5 separate regions of the Homo sapiens genome follow, and regions 2, 3, 4 and 5 are each linked to region 1. The links are contacts of gene promoters, found by promoter capture Hi-C in blood cells and fetal thymus (Javierre and others, 2016). All regions are on one chromosome and are shown on one strand. The core of a region is centred on a gene start or on the middle of the fragment in contact, and the rest is flanking DNA. Distances in the headings are between cores, read along the strand shown. Region 1 holds the start of CLCN1 (chloride voltage-gated channel 1). Region 2 overlaps EPHA1-AS1 (EPHA1 antisense RNA 1). Region 3 overlaps EPHA1-AS1 (EPHA1 antisense RNA 1). Region 4 overlaps EPHA1-AS1 (EPHA1 antisense RNA 1). Region 5 overlaps EPHA1-AS1 (EPHA1 antisense RNA 1).

Region 1 (2,893 bases), core at 232-2,731:
CATGGCTGATTTTTATAATTTTTATAGAGACAGGGTCTCCCCATGTTGCCAGGTTGGTCTCGAACTGCTGGGCTTAAGCATTCCACCCGCCTTGGTCACCCACATTGCTGGGATTATAAGCATGAACCATAATATCCATAGCCATAATAATGGCTATCTCTTGCTTTTTTGATAATAGCCATCCTAACAGGTATGAGGCGATATTGCATTATGATTTTGGTTTCCTGATGATTAATGATGTTGAGGCCCTAGAAAAAGTACTTTTAATGATATTGGCTTCCCTCCTGCTTTGGGTGGTTCCATTTAGCCTAGGTCAAAATCACATTGTAGACCAGATGTTTGGTGTCCCTACCCTGCAGTCCCTGAACTTGGACTGTCCTGGGACAGACCCCACTTGGTAATGCATCCTAAACTTTACTTTGGCTCAGTTCATATCTTTTCTCCTACAGTGAAGAGTTCATAGGGAAGACATGTCATAGGAAAATTGGTTTTATAACGTGATGCCAGGAAGAAAAGTTTGTCCTTGGCCAAAAAAGTATTTATTGACCTGAAAAGGGAAGAATAGCAGAGAGCACTTCCCCATCATCTTTCATGTTTGTCGGGCTTGTCATGAGAAGCCCTCACCCCTTTCCCACCTCTCCCTTCCCTGTGCCTCTTTCTACTTTCGATTCTCCCCTGTTATCTCCCTTGTTATCTATCTGATGGAGCCAGTGTGGGCACTCCACAGTCCAAATGGAAGCTCAGTCCCTCCGGGTTGGCAGTGTGGCTGACACCTAACAGTCTGGGAAGTGGGAGAAATTCTAGAACCCAAGGCTATTACCGACCCTCGACTTCCCACTTCCCATAAGTGTTCCACACCCAGTGAGTGATAAGGATGGGATCAGGGGATGCCCCCAAGCTGTTATTAGCAGCCTCTGGCAGACAGAAGGGCAAAGAGCTAGAGAAGAACGCTGGACATGGGATGGGCTGGCAGAGCTGGCCAGACAGAACCCTGGGTGGACACAGAGTTGGGAACAAGCTGGCCAGGAGATGTGGCAGAGAGGCACCAGTTACTTTCCCAGGTGAGTTAATGTGCCAGTGTTTCCAGAACTTCGAGTCGCTTCATCTTTATCCAGCACCCACCCCTCACCTTCCGCATCCTGAAGAAGAGAGATGGGCAACTGGAGGGCTTCCATGCAGATCCGGCTCTACACATAGGTTTGAGAGCATACTCAGCAGTTTCTCATCCTGGTCCAGGCGATATTTATAGAGGGACCAGTGACATGGAGCTGGAAGCCTACTACTGGTGACTAAGAAGGGGGACAATGCCACTGGCTCAGCAGAGGGAATTCCCTGTGGGGCTGTCCCTCAGGTTCTCATCCCAACCCCCACCCCCACACTGCACTCACACCTGCTTCGACCCCAAGCAGATCAGATGTGGCAGTGGGGGGTCATGTGACGGAGAGGGGTCTATAAATAGCTGGAGGTGGGCATGCTGCCCCAGACGCCTTGGGGACAGCAAGAGCAGAGGCTTAAGGAGCTACACTGGGGGAAGGACAGGGGCAAGCAGGCCAAGGCCTGGCCGGGGCTCGGGGGGAGGGAATATGGAGCAATCCCGGTCACAGCAGCGTGGGGGTGAACAAAGCTGGTGGGGTAGTGACCCCCAGTACCAGTATATGCCCTTTGAACACTGCACCAGCTACGGACTGCCCTCTGAGAATGGGGGCCTCCAGCACAGGCTCCGGAAGGATGCAGGCCCCCGCCACAACGTCCACCCCACACAGGTAAAGTGCTCTAAGGGGAGAGGGGAGCCATGGATGAGGGGAGACAGTGGTGCCAGAGACTGGTGAAAATGAGGAATTGGGTGAAAAGAGGGAGCAGTGTTACATTTTTTTAACTTAAAAAACAAGTACGTGGTGATGTGTTCAAAATATGAAAATCTTTGAAAGTCTGGGCTCACTTAAGTATGCACTTAGAGAGATATGCATGCACTTTCATACAACCTTTACCAACAGAGTACCCAAATCATATGGGGAAACAGCAGAGCCTCACATGCATGAATAGCTCGTGCTTACATAACCTACGTGGAGTGGATTGCGTAGGAGCCCACACTGCAGTGTGCTGGGAGCTGTCTCCCACACCCTCACCCACAGGTAGACACTGCCAGATTTCTGCCTCTGGGACCCTCTGCAGAATACACACAAACATGAATCTTTCTGCAGAAGGCAGAAGAAAGGAATTGGGCAAGTGTAGAAAACAGACTGAATTGCTTATCAGTGATCAAAGATCTACCAACGTCAAAATGAGCAGAGATGTACAAGCTTTTAGGTCGCAAGATGATCAAGTAAGAACCTATTAAGTGTTAGGCACCTGGAAAAGGGCAGAGATGTGATCCCAGCAACAGAAGCATGCAGGCTAATTAGGAGTGTCTATGGATGAGCAGCCTCCCGCTGTGGGATTGGTGGGATATGAACACCTAGGAAAGGGGGAATGGGGATGGGCACAACTAAAGGAAAGGTTGTGAAATTGTCATGGAAAAAGATAGGTCATGGTTAATAAGTAAGTGTGCCTCTCCCTCCAAAGAATGCAGAGAATAACAGAGGATAGAATTTGTCTAGAGGGCAGTTGGCCAGAACTTTTTTTTTTTTTTTTTTTTTTGAGATGGAGTCTCGCTCTGTCTCCCAGGCTGGAGTGCAGTGGTGCTATCTTGGCTCACTGCGACCTCCGCCTCCCGGGTTCAAGCAATTCTCTTTCCTCAGCCTCCTGAGTAGCTGGGATTACAAGCACCTGCCACCATACCTGGCAAATTTTTGTACTTTCAGTAGAGACGGGGTTTTGCCATGTTGGCCAGGCTGTCTCGAACTCCTGACCTCAGGTAATTCACCCGCCTTGGCCTCCCAAAGTGCTGGAATTA
Region 2 (2,893 bases), core at 394-2,893, 200 kb after region 1:
AGACTCCTCACTGATTCAACAGAGGGTAACAAAAGAGGCTTGATGATGGATGATTCCATAGAAATAACATGTACAAATTTCTGGTACAGACCTGATACATAGTAGGTGCAGAAAAACACTGAAAGCATTTTTACTTTTATCCTTTATTACTTGACAGGCTTAAGTCATATTTTCTCTGAGTATTCTCCCTCCCACCATGGAACTCTCCATAAGCGTGCTGTTTCAGGGGATTACCTAGTGCCTTTTCTCTTTCTGAGGTGCAAGAAGTAAAGTGAGTGTATATCTGGGTGTGGGAACCTTATGAGGAGATGAGTAGACATAGATGTAGGGAAGTCTGTCTATCTGTCTGTCTGTCTTCTATCTATCCACCTATTTCTATCTTTCCACTTATTTTCCCTCCTGCACTTCCTACTGTCTTTCTGAGACTGTACAAGCTATGGAAGAAGACATCACTAGATTAAAATCCTGGCTTAATCACTTATGTGCCATATTGACTTTGGTTGATGTACTCAATTTCCATGATCCTCAGTCTCTACATCTAAATGGAGATAATGATGCCTAATTCATAGGGTTGCTGTGAGAATCAGGCATATTATAAAGAAAGCCCATTACATAGTACCAGGCATGAAGAAGCTAACAAAAGGTGGTTTCTAATCATTTCATTTGACTACTCTGTCTTCTACAATGTCATGTCAGTCTTTGTGCTCCCTCTGCATAGCAGCCGACAACTGCAATTACTGTAATGCCTCCTTTCCCTACATCATACAGGCCTTTTTCTTGGTTTATGACAGATAACTTGAAAATAATTAATTTACATATATTTGCATTATATATGTTAAATTTAAATTTATTTTATAAAAGAAAACTCATTTACTATTCTTCTTGTTTTTTTTTTGCTGTCATGCAAACTTCCACATTTTTTAGTGTTTTTTTTTTTCCTCATCAATTTGGTAATTCCTTTACTGAAAGGAGGTAAATGTCATCTCTGGATTTATCAACTTCACTGTGTTGTCCCTCCCCAACCTTTTATGATCTCAGCCTCCATCGCTGGGATATGTGTTATTTGCCTGCATGGTGTTTCTGTCTTGTGAGCCAGTTCCTTTTACATGATAAAGCCGCCTACTGAATCTGTGATGACTAAATTTGGTATGAGATCTTGTCAAGGTCTTTTGAAAGTCTAAATAAAAGAAACCCTCTGTTAGTTTCTTGTTGGCTTCTTTCTCTCTCAAAAGCATTTAACTATTAACAGATTCAATAGGGAATGTTTTCCTTACACAAACATTCTTGCTTTTCCCCCTTTATGGTGTTTTCTGAAGTGTTTAGTGATCCTGCACGTTATACAAATGAGATATCCTGGGTAGCTGTGGCATCAGCCCTGGAGCCCTTCTTTAACATGATGGTTACATGGGCAGTCTTTTAGTCTGCTAGTTCTGGGTCAGTATGCGACCTTTGTTTTTGCCTTTTGACCAACACGTTCCCCTCAAGCTTCCTGACAAGTCATAATTACCAGTCTCGGCAACATGTGCACCTGTGTTTAGACCTCCTGAATAGTTGCCACTGCCAGTTCTCTTTTCTGCAGAAGTCAATGATGGGATCAGGGCTTTGAGGAAAGCATCATTTCAGGCTCCCTGGTCTCTTTTATTTTCATCTGGAGAGGAGCTTTGAACCAGGAAAATCTAGGAGTCCTGCTGATATTAGAGCTGACTTTGATGCTTAAAAAAAAAAAAAATTCCTTACTTCAATGAGGCAGTACCCGTTTTAACTAATGTCTGTAACTCAGGCTTCTGCCAGAGGACGAGGGATAAGCTTCAAAAATGAGCACTTGAATGTTCCACATCAAAATTATCTGGTGGAGGGACTGTCCCAGTTCTGGTGCTGTGAAGGTCAACTTCATCACACATAGATGCATGATATTGTACTTTCACATTTTGAAAACGACCCTAGGCCTGAGGATTAGTTACTTTATCTACTTGAGAAATATTAGCATTTAATAGGGAAGCTAGTTTGTTTTCAAAATTTGTTTCTAAAAATAACTATCATTTTCCATGAAGTTGATTTTAGTAGACTTGAACATACTTTAAACTTCTAAACATCATTTTGTGCTACAAAACAGCAAGTGATCTCCCTCGAAAACCCAGCAAGACCCTCCTTCTAAAAGATGTTTTTCTGTTTCTTGCTGGCCATAGATGAGAGCTGGAATGAAGTACCAGGGCAAGGGAGCTGCCTGGATGAGGAAACCAAGGCTATCTCAGTACTGCCAAGGTGTTTTCATCATTCATCAAAATGCAAAAGTAAACACTGGTGAGAAAAACGATGTTGATCTCCCAGGCAAGCCACTTTCCAGGAGTGTGGCTGATTATTTTCAAATGCTGCATCGGAAAGTTGCAGGCCCCTTGGAAAATCTGTCACCCCTGAGAGTGATGTGAGTGATTTTGGCTTCGGGGGCTCTTTCCAACGGGATCATTTCCCTGCCATCCAATTGCCTGCCTTAGTGTTTCCAGAATAGATCCCTGTGGTTGCTGAGAAAGAGCAATAAATGCCTAAATGATTCAGGAGGCCCGAGGCTGGGCTCTGAGGGGGGCCCAGTCTCATCAGTGGGGAGTCTCTTCAGTGGCGGATCCTGTTATTGATGTGGTCTGGGGCCTGGGGATTTTGTTCTTTGACCAAGACAAAGGAGTAATACATGGAGACTTTCCTTCCTAGGCTTTGTCTGAGGTCAAATATTTGTTCTCCCATGGAGCTGAAAAATAATCAAGGATATCATCTTCTTGAATATTCTCTATTCTGCTTCTAAGAGTTGAAGAAATAATATTTTCCTCAATTCTATTTTTACAGATTATTCTACAGAAACAACACATCACTGGATGCCTCTCACCATGCAATCCTCTGTGCA
Region 3 (2,893 bases), core at 145-2,644, 190 kb after region 1:
AGAGAGGCAGGAACACCAGCATCAGATCTTTCTGCCTCCGTCTTCTCTTTAGGGCCAAGCCCATATCAAGCTGGGGAAACCGTGAAGGGCCTTTTACAAAGAATCGAACAGGCTGCTTTAGAAAACTACTCCACATGCCTTCTGTTTAATGCTCACAATCTGATTATGTTGTAGCTGCTTGGTGCTGCGGTGTGCCCTATCCTGGCTGCATTTCTTCATTCCCTCCCCTGCCCACATACATCCACAGCCCCAGTCGGCTGTATCCATGAAGAGCTGAATGGAACAGGATGACTGGCAGCCCACGCCAAAGGCCAAGAGATGTGAAGGTAGAAGCAAGAAGTTAGAATGACCTGAGGAAGAGGTCACAAGCCCAGGAATGCCAGCAGCCACTAAAAGCTGAAAAAAGGCAAGGAAATGAGTTTTCCTCTGAAGCTGCCAGAAGGAACAAGCCCAGCCAATGCCTTGACCCTAGCCCAGTAAAATTGATTTTGAACTTCCGACTTCCAGAACTGTGAGAGAATACATTTACGTTGTTTTAAGCCACAAATATGTGGCAATTTGTTACAGCAGCAATGGGAAACTAACACAGATTCTAATCTCTTTTCTTACTCCCATCCCAGGTTGCCCTGGGGTTAATTCATGATTAAAGATCCTCCAGCTTTGTTCTCTATACTTTCTCTTGTCTTCTTGAGTCTGATCTCCTTCTTGCTCTCCAAGTGCTTCCCCCACTGCACATCAACAAGAACATTTCTGCTTCTTACCTGTCTCTGTCCCCTGCTCTAACCCATGAGGAGTCAGAAGCAGTCTAGTGGGGGCCAGGCAGGGGAGGGAGGTGAGGAAGCTAGGAAGGTTAGAGAAGAGAGAAGAAGCCAACATTCCCCACTTTAAGCTTTTGGGGTTGGGAGTCAGAAGAAGCTTTATCTTAAAACAAGGTTTAGAGGTTTGATTTTACCTTGGGCTGGATATTTTTAAGACTGCAGTGAGAATGTTTTGGGGACTTAAGGCGAATGAAAACGTTTTGATTTTTTGGGAGGAACTAGAACATTCATGCTACTTGTTATGGATTTAGTCCAAGGCACAGAGAAGGACTAGCCCCATAGTGCAGGTTTGAGTGTATGGAGATGAGAAAGAACACAGCACTTTTCTGATTACAGTTTGTGAATTCAGCTTGTTCAGTAAACCAGTTCCCCTTAGTTTCTACAATAGATTTGAGATCTTGTGGTCTGGGACCTGGGAATTCCATCGTGGCTGTGATATTTTCGCAAGATTTTCAAATCTTTTTCAGTATCACATGCACTCTGTGTAGCGGAGGTTGTTTCATCTACTTAGCCCACCAAGACCCCTCTGGAGGCTGCATAGCCTGGTGGCTAAAGGTGTAGGTTCTAGACCCTGAATGTGCAAGTCTGAATCTTTGTTCCTACCTTGTGCCTTTGCAGCAATGGGCAAGTTAAAGTCTCTACTGCCTCAGTTTCTTCTGATGTAAAATGGGGAGGATGGTAATACCTGACTCACGGGCTTTTGTGAAGATCAAATGAGACGATCCATGCAGAGCACTTAGCACAGTGTCCAGTCCATGATAAGCCCTCAGTGAATAGTAGATATTTTTATGTTGAAATGCTTTGAAGAGTTTAGAAGAAAGGTGCCAGTCAAGCCAATGCTAGAAACAGAGATTAATTTTTATTTCCTCACACATTTACTTCTATCCTGCTGTGCCTTGTAAACTGAACATTTTCATATTTTTCTCCTTCGCAAAATACAAACTGTTCCAACAGTTCTCTGCCTCAAACCTGAAGTGTTTTATGCCATCCTTGGTAGGTTGTGAGAGATATTTTGGAAGCACCTTTTTAGAAGCTCTGTTAATTGAAACTATTCCTCAAGCTTTGCAATAAATGCAGAAAGTTTCAGTGCTCCCTCACATCCTGGAAGCTGACTGTAGCCTGTAGAGGGCTACTGGGTTAAGCCCTCTACAAAGGTGACGATAGAGTCCAGTTCAGGAAGCCATCTTCTGGCCAGGTAGGGTGGACATGGGCACACTGGAGCCAGAGGGAGGTCAAAAGAGGGTAGTGAGTGTAGGGGCCAGAAATGATTATCCAAGAGTAAATTGAGGTCCAGAAGCTGTTCAGAGGCACAGGAGCCCTTTTTCATCTTGTCTTTGTTCCTGTTGATAGTGAATATACAGCAGCTGTCTTGAAGATGGAGAAGGAAAGTGAGGGGTGCTGACTGAGAAACTGCCTTACAGACCTCCTTCCTCTCTCCATCTACCTCTAAGTCAAATGAAAAGGAATCCAGTGAAATTCTCCCAGCTCCCTTAATAAAGATGACTCTCCAGCTCTCATCTTGCTAGGAGAATGTTCCACTTCTTTTTCCACAAATAAAAATAATTTATGTTTGTACAGTGCTTAATTTCAAGAAATTTCATAGATATTATTTCATTTGAGGAAGGAGAGAATTGGGGCTGGGTTAGGCCACACAAGCCTGGCTCAATGTCAAGTATTTCCTAAATGGAGACAGAGGTCTGACTCTAAGCTTTATATATGACACTGGTTAGATTTTAGAGTTTTTTAGTTTTTTGAGTTGTGGTGGGAGAAGCACTATAATCATTATTAATATAGCCACCATGAAACATAGATTTAAAATTCTGCTCTGCTAGTTTGAGGTAGCATTAAGATCAGTAGAATGATTTTGAAGGTTTCTGCTTATCAAAGAAATGTTTAAAGAAGAAGAAGTGTGGGTGTGGTGGCTCACACCTGTAATCCCAGCACTTTGGGAGGCTGAGGCGGGTGTATCACCTGAGGTCAGGAGTTTGAGACCAGCCTGGCCAACGTGGTGAAATCCCCTCTCTACTAAAAGTACAAACATTAGCCAGGTGTGGTGGCACACACCTGTAGTCCTA
Region 4 (2,893 bases), core at 237-2,736, 170 kb after region 1:
AGTGGCTAGTGAGGGTAGCACAGGACAGGTTTAACTTATGGGTGGGGAGGAGGATGTCAACAAAGGCTTAGTGTTTGGGACGTCATTCCAGGGGGTCCAGTGGGAGGCCTTGGACTGACACCAGACTTTGTGGGAAACCAGGTTGAAGAGTGCTTGGCAATGTCCAGTGGCCTGGAGGTCCAGTTCACCAAATCAGTTTTCCTCTTTTAGTTTTATCTGCAAAAGGGAAACACCCACCCCATAGTTTTAGTAAGGGTATGAATCTCACACACCTGGACTTTCTACTTTTTCTGCAGCCAGGAGCTAGAGCTGGAAAAAAATCTCTACCAAGTCAGACTCCTTTGCTTCTCTTTTCTCACTTCTAACTAACTGAAAGGTAGAGAGGGCGTTTTCTCTTTTTATTGTATGTTTTTCTAGTTTCTAAACTGAGCCTGATATCTAGAGTTGGGGGACTAACTGACTGACTGAACATCACACTGAGTAGTGGCTTCTTAAAATTCATCCTCTCATCTAGGTGGTGGAGGAAGCCAAAGAACTATAATTTGTGAGGGAAACAGGGGTGGGAATCCTCAGAAAATCATTTCCCTTATTGGCCCCCACCTTATCTGTTCCCAGGGCTTGTATTCCTTTGTGCTGAGATCTCATTCTGAAAGAAGTGTCAGCCAGCACATTCTATAGAACATATATTTTAAAAGTTTATTCTTATTTTTATGAAAGTAGTAGAATCTTATTTTAAAAAATTATAAACAGTACACAAAAATTTAAGGAAAATAAAATGCCTCCATCCTTCTTCATTCTTCTCTCCATTATATATTTTACCAGAAGTAATCAATGTTAATATTAGGTCGGTAATATATAGTACAATCATCCATATATTGAAATATACTTTATGGGATTGTATACAATTTTTTTCATTTATGGTTCATGATTTTATGTGTACCTCAAGAAATCTTTGCCATCCTAAGATCACAAAGATTTTCTTGTTTTTCTAGAAGCTTTATGGTTTTACCTCTTACATTTAGGTTTCTTATCCATTTCATGTTAATTTTGTATATGAAGTGAGGTAAGGATTGAGGTTCATTTTCCCCCTTTATGAATATACAAATGTTTTAGCACTGTTTGTTGAAAAGACATACCACAAATTTTGACAGACAGTATTGTGTTTTAATTTTTATTTAGTTCAAAAGATTTTCCAATTTCCCTTTTCATTTTTGCTTTGGCCAATGGGTTAACCAAACAAGTAGTGTTTAATATCTAAATATTTGTGAGATCTTCCAGTTATCTTTCTGGCATTAATTTCAAATTTAATTCTATTGTGATTAGAGGACATAGTCTGCATGATTTCAGTCTTTTAAAATTTCTTGAGATTTGCTTCATGGCCCACTGGATTATCAGTCCTGATGAATGCTCCATGTGCACTTGAAATGGATGTGTATTCTGCTGACGTTGGATGGAGTGTTCTATAAATGTCAGCTAGGTCCTGTTGGTTGATAGCATTGTTCAAGTCTTCTATATCCTCTGTATCCTTACGGATTTTCTGTCTACTTGTTCATTTACTGAGAGGCAAGTGTTGAATTATTCTACTCGAATTGTGTATTTTTTTATTTTTAATTTTAGACAGAATCTGGCTCTGACATGTAGGCTATGGTGCGTGGCACAATCACAGCTCACTGCAACCTCTGCCCCCCAGGCTCAAGCAATCCTCCCACCTCAGCCTTTGGAGTAGCTGGGACCACAGGCACGCACCACCATGCTGGGCTAATTTTTTAATATTTTGTAGAGGCAGTGTCTCACTATGTTGCCCAGGCTGGTTTCGAACTCTTAAGCTCAAGAGATACACCTGCTTTGGCCTCCGAAAGTGCTGGGATCACAGGCATGAGCCATGGGGCCTGGCCTGATACCTTTTTAAATTTTTGTCCTTTTTTTGCTGCATATATTTTGAAGCTCTGCTGTTAGATGCTTATACATTCAGGAGGTCAAGCTTACTATTATTTTATTTTACAGTGCCTAAACTATTGTTAATTCCATCTAGTGAAATTTAAATTTTACGTATTTTATTTTTCATCTTTACAAGTCTTGTTTAGTTTCTTCTGTTTCTAGGCCTGTGTTTGTTGACCAATCTGTTCCAGGTTATGAATCTTATTTTCCTGATTTTTTAAGGTCTAGTAATTTTTTACTGAATGTTGTAAATTAGAAATCTTAAGTTATTTAATACTTGGTTTTGTTGTTTTCTATTGAAGCATTTTAGACTTTTTCTGACAGTTACTTGTAAATTAGTTTGATGCTTTTGATTTTTTTAAAAGCAAATTTAGGGTAGGTCTATGGTAGTCTTTTTCTAGGGCTACTAATTTTGCTCAACTTCTAAGACATAGCATCTTTGCAACTCATATGGAGTGCTTTGTATATTCAGTAATGTTTCTTCACTCTGGCCAAAGAGTGCTAAAATGAATCCTGGCCCCGTAGGAGTTCTGGGAATTGTTTGTTTTATAGCACTCCAGCATTTTTTCTTTCTTTGGAGATTGTTTTTTTCTCAGTCTTACAGGGTTTCACACTACTCACATACGGATTGGTGTTTAGCCAAGGACTCAAAGACTGATTTCTGGAACCATTTTCCTGTGTAGCTTATTTTTCCCTCTAATCTCCGCATCCTTCACTGAGCAAGATTTCCAGGTCTGTTTAAATTCTCTCTTTGTGCTACAATCTGGATATTGCCTCCTGGCAGAAAATCTGGGTGATTGTAAGAATCACCTCATTATTTTTCCTTCTCACAGTAATCACAGTTTTGTGCTGTTTTTTTCATATCTGAAAACAATGTTTTTAAACTGTTTTCCAGTCTTCTAGTTGCTTGTGGTAGCTGGGTAATTCTGTCCTGTTACTTCTTCACGTCTGGGAG
Region 5 (2,893 bases), core at 255-2,754, 140 kb after region 1:
GCTGCAGTTGCAGGTACATGCACTCAACAGCATGTCCATGAACCCTGTTCTCTTCTGGAGGGTCTACGTGGCAGAAGCTCTGGCTCTTTCACATCAAGAAGGATCTTAAATTCTGGAGCAATGGCTCATACCTATAATCCCAGCACTTTGAGAGGCTGATGCAGGCAGATCGCTTGAGTCCAGGAGTTCCAGGCTAGTCTGGGCAACATAGCAAAATCCCATCTCTACAAAAAGTACAATTAGCCAGGTGTGGTCGCATGCGCCTGTGGTCCCAGCTACTCAGGAGGCTGAGAAGGGAGGATTGCTTGAGCCCGGGGAGGTCAAGGCTGCAGTGAGCTGTGATCACACCACTGCACTCCAGTCTGGGTGACAGAGTGCAGTCCCTGTCCTAAAATCAACAGCATTCTCATTCGAGTAAAAAATAATTAAACCTTGAGATATTTTCCTCTGCTTTCCTATGCTCTCCATTCACATTTCTTTGCTGAGTTTAAACCTTGGATTCTAAATTCTGCTTAAGTTCTACTGTCTTATAGATAATCGGAAAAGTTAAGTGGTTTCCCAAGGAGGACTCTGCTCCTGGCCTGTTTGCTCCAGCTTGGTCTAGCCCTATGATTGTTGTCTTTGACTCCCTCCTTGACTTGCAGTATTGATCTACATTGGTCTGTGCTTGTTTCTGACATCATCATACTTTATGAACTAGCATGGTTTCGATTCCAGTTTCCCTGGACCAGCCCAGTCCTGCAGCAACCGGTAGTAACCCAGCTCTGAGAAGTAAAATTGCAAAAGCCTCAAAGAAACTTCCTTTCTTTTGCCGTGACTTGAAATTTGTAAATGGCTTTCCTGAACTTAGAGAATCCTGAGTCAGAACCCAGAAATTTGGAATAAGTTAGTCAAGTGCCCTAATCACAGCCAGATGCCCTTCTAATCACTAATTCCCAAGACCAAATGAGGGTCAAACACTTTCTTGCACCACCCCTGGCATTCTACTGTAGGCATCCTCCTCCTTGTCTTACACTAGCAGAGATTTGGGAAGGGGAGGCTATCAGGGTTCTAATTTTGGCCTTTATCTTCGAAATTAAAAGGCTTCCAAGGCATGAAATTGGTGATGAAAAGAGCTAAACCAGATGACACAACGACTCTTAAAGAATGTGTTAGTGTCTTGGAGTCAAGACCTAAGTTTAAGTGTTCATTCTCTTCTGCCTCTTATTTTGTGGCTTTGAGAAGTCATTACCCTTACAGGCCCTCATTTTTTATGTCTGTAGGATGGGAATGGGGGCTGAATTCCTCAGGTTATGATGGTGGTGGCAAGATGGTCCTGCTGGTACTAGTAGTGGCAACATGTGTTTGCAGGAAAAGGCAGGGCAGACATGCTGAAAGGTTTAATTGGATCAATTAGTCCAACACTCAATATTTATATAGACGATTTTCCAGAAGACAGCAGTAATTACGTCTTTAGAAGATTAATATACAACTCTGTGTAATGGTGAGACTTTAAATACTGTGACCGGTTCTGTCTTGCTCTGCCCTTCCTCCATCCAGATATCCTCCAAGCCAGATAAATCAGTTCTTAATAGCCTCAAATCTAGTCTTGCAGGTTAAGGCTAATGTGGAGATAGAGTTATTTAGAGTTCCTTAACAACATCTGTCTTAGTCTGTTCTTGCTGTTATGACAAAATACCTGAGACTGAGTTACTTATAAACAATAGTAATTTATATTTTCATAGTTCTGAGGCTGGGAAGTCTAGGATCAAGGCACTGGCAGATTCAGTGTCTGGTGAGGAACTGCTCTATCGATGGCATCCTCTCTTGGTGCCATTCTCACCTGGCAAAAGTGATGGAAGAGCAAAAAGGCAAAAGGCAAAAGGGCAAAAGGCATGTGGGCACTCCCTTCAATTTCTTTTGTAAGTGCACTGATCTGTTCATGAGGCTCCACCCTCAAGAATGGATTAGTGCTCTTATAAAATAGACTTAATCACTTCCCCAAAGGCCCAGTCTCTTAATGTGGTTGCATTGGCAATTAGGTTTCAACATGTGAATTTTGAGGGACACATTTAAACCACAGCAATATCACAAAGAATTCATTAGTTTTAAAACTTAAATATTATTTTTGATAATACATGATTATTGCAGAAAATATGGAAAACAGACTATTATTAAAAAGTTAAAAATCCCTCATGTTCACTATACGGAGATAATCATAGTTGGCACTCATGACTCCTTCCAGATGTATCTTCTCACCCTGAATTATGCTCATTGTACAAAAACATACAATGCCAATATATCAACCATAAAAACATACTTTTACAAAATTAGAATACTAAATTTATATTGTTTTTTTCATATATTGTGACTATTTCCTTTATCTATAATGACAGACACAAGGCCTTTCCAAAGTATAAAAGGATACTTTGAAATATAAAAATAGATGAAAAAGCATGAACAATATAAAATGATGAATAAGCAAAGGAATTCTTACCATTTCACATGAGGAATCATTAGTTTTCACCGATTGCAAACTTCTAGAATACCCAAATATAGAAAAGTATGAAACAGAACAAAAAATAAACCTTAGGAGTAAAATATGTGATTAAATTAGTTACTAAGCAGAATTTTATTCTAGGTCCTTCACAGCAATTTTAAATGGACCAGGATAAAATAGATTTGGTAATGTTGTTTCAGAATTATTCTACCTTAGTGATGTTTCCCTCTCCTAGGTCCAGCAGGATAGTCTGGACAGGGATAGAATCTGAATATTTTATTTCTGGCAAAATCTTTATGTCTTTGCTCGTTGTTTTCCTATCTATGTCATGACAACTCTTGTAAACATTCCATTTTTTTCTGTTCAAGGCAGAAATCATAGGCCAGTCCTATCAAAGGTTCTCAGTCAATACTA

Evidence for each region. The method cuts DNA at HindIII sites, captures the fragments that hold promoters and counts their contacts. A CHiCAGO score of 5 or more calls a contact.
Region 2: a contact is called between a fragment that was not itself captured here and the fragment with the promoter of CLCN1 in region 1, in 1 of 17 cell types (M0 macrophages). The highest score is 6.0, in M0 macrophages.
Region 3: a contact is called between a fragment that was not itself captured here and the fragment with the promoter of CLCN1 in region 1, in 3 of 17 cell types (M0 macrophages, M1 macrophages and M2 macrophages). The highest score is 11.4, in M0 macrophages.
Region 4: a contact is called between a fragment that was not itself captured here and the fragment with the promoter of CLCN1 in region 1, in 3 of 17 cell types (M0 macrophages, M2 macrophages and M1 macrophages). The highest score is 6.5, in M0 macrophages.
Region 5: a contact is called between a fragment that was not itself captured here and the fragment with the promoter of CLCN1 in region 1, in 1 of 17 cell types (M0 macrophages). The highest score is 5.1, in M0 macrophages.

What each region holds. Positions count from the first base shown.
Region 1 is chr7:143,314,630-143,317,522 of GRCh38, forward strand. CLCN1 (chloride voltage-gated channel 1) reads left to right here and starts at 1,482. Exons shown (of 23, transcript NM_000083.3): 1 at 1,482-1,763. The coding sequence starts at 1,584. The HindIII fragment of the contact is 3,265 bases long and covers 1-2,298 here.
Region 2 is chr7:143,516,096-143,518,988 of GRCh38, forward strand. It overlaps EPHA1-AS1 (EPHA1 antisense RNA 1), which reads left to right. Exons shown (of 5, transcript NR_033897.1): 4 at 2,187-2,422; 5 at 2,836-2,893. Among named protein-coding and RNA genes, the nearest start is that of TAS2R41, 40 kb to the left of the region's middle. The HindIII fragment of the contact is 321 bases long and covers 1,484-1,804 here.
Region 3 is chr7:143,499,728-143,502,620 of GRCh38, forward strand. All of the region lies in intron 2 of EPHA1-AS1 (EPHA1 antisense RNA 1), which reads left to right. Among named protein-coding and RNA genes, the nearest start is that of TAS2R41, 23 kb to the left of the region's middle. The HindIII fragment of the contact is 963 bases long and covers 914-1,876 here.
Region 4 is chr7:143,481,782-143,484,674 of GRCh38, forward strand. All of the region lies in intron 2 of EPHA1-AS1 (EPHA1 antisense RNA 1), which reads left to right. Among named protein-coding and RNA genes, the nearest start is that of TAS2R41, 5.4 kb to the left of the region's middle. The HindIII fragment of the contact is 986 bases long and covers 994-1,979 here.
Region 5 is chr7:143,457,651-143,460,543 of GRCh38, forward strand. All of the region lies in intron 2 of EPHA1-AS1 (EPHA1 antisense RNA 1), which reads left to right. Among named protein-coding and RNA genes, the nearest start is that of TAS2R60, 16 kb to the left of the region's middle. The HindIII fragment of the contact is 4,169 bases long and covers 1-2,893 here.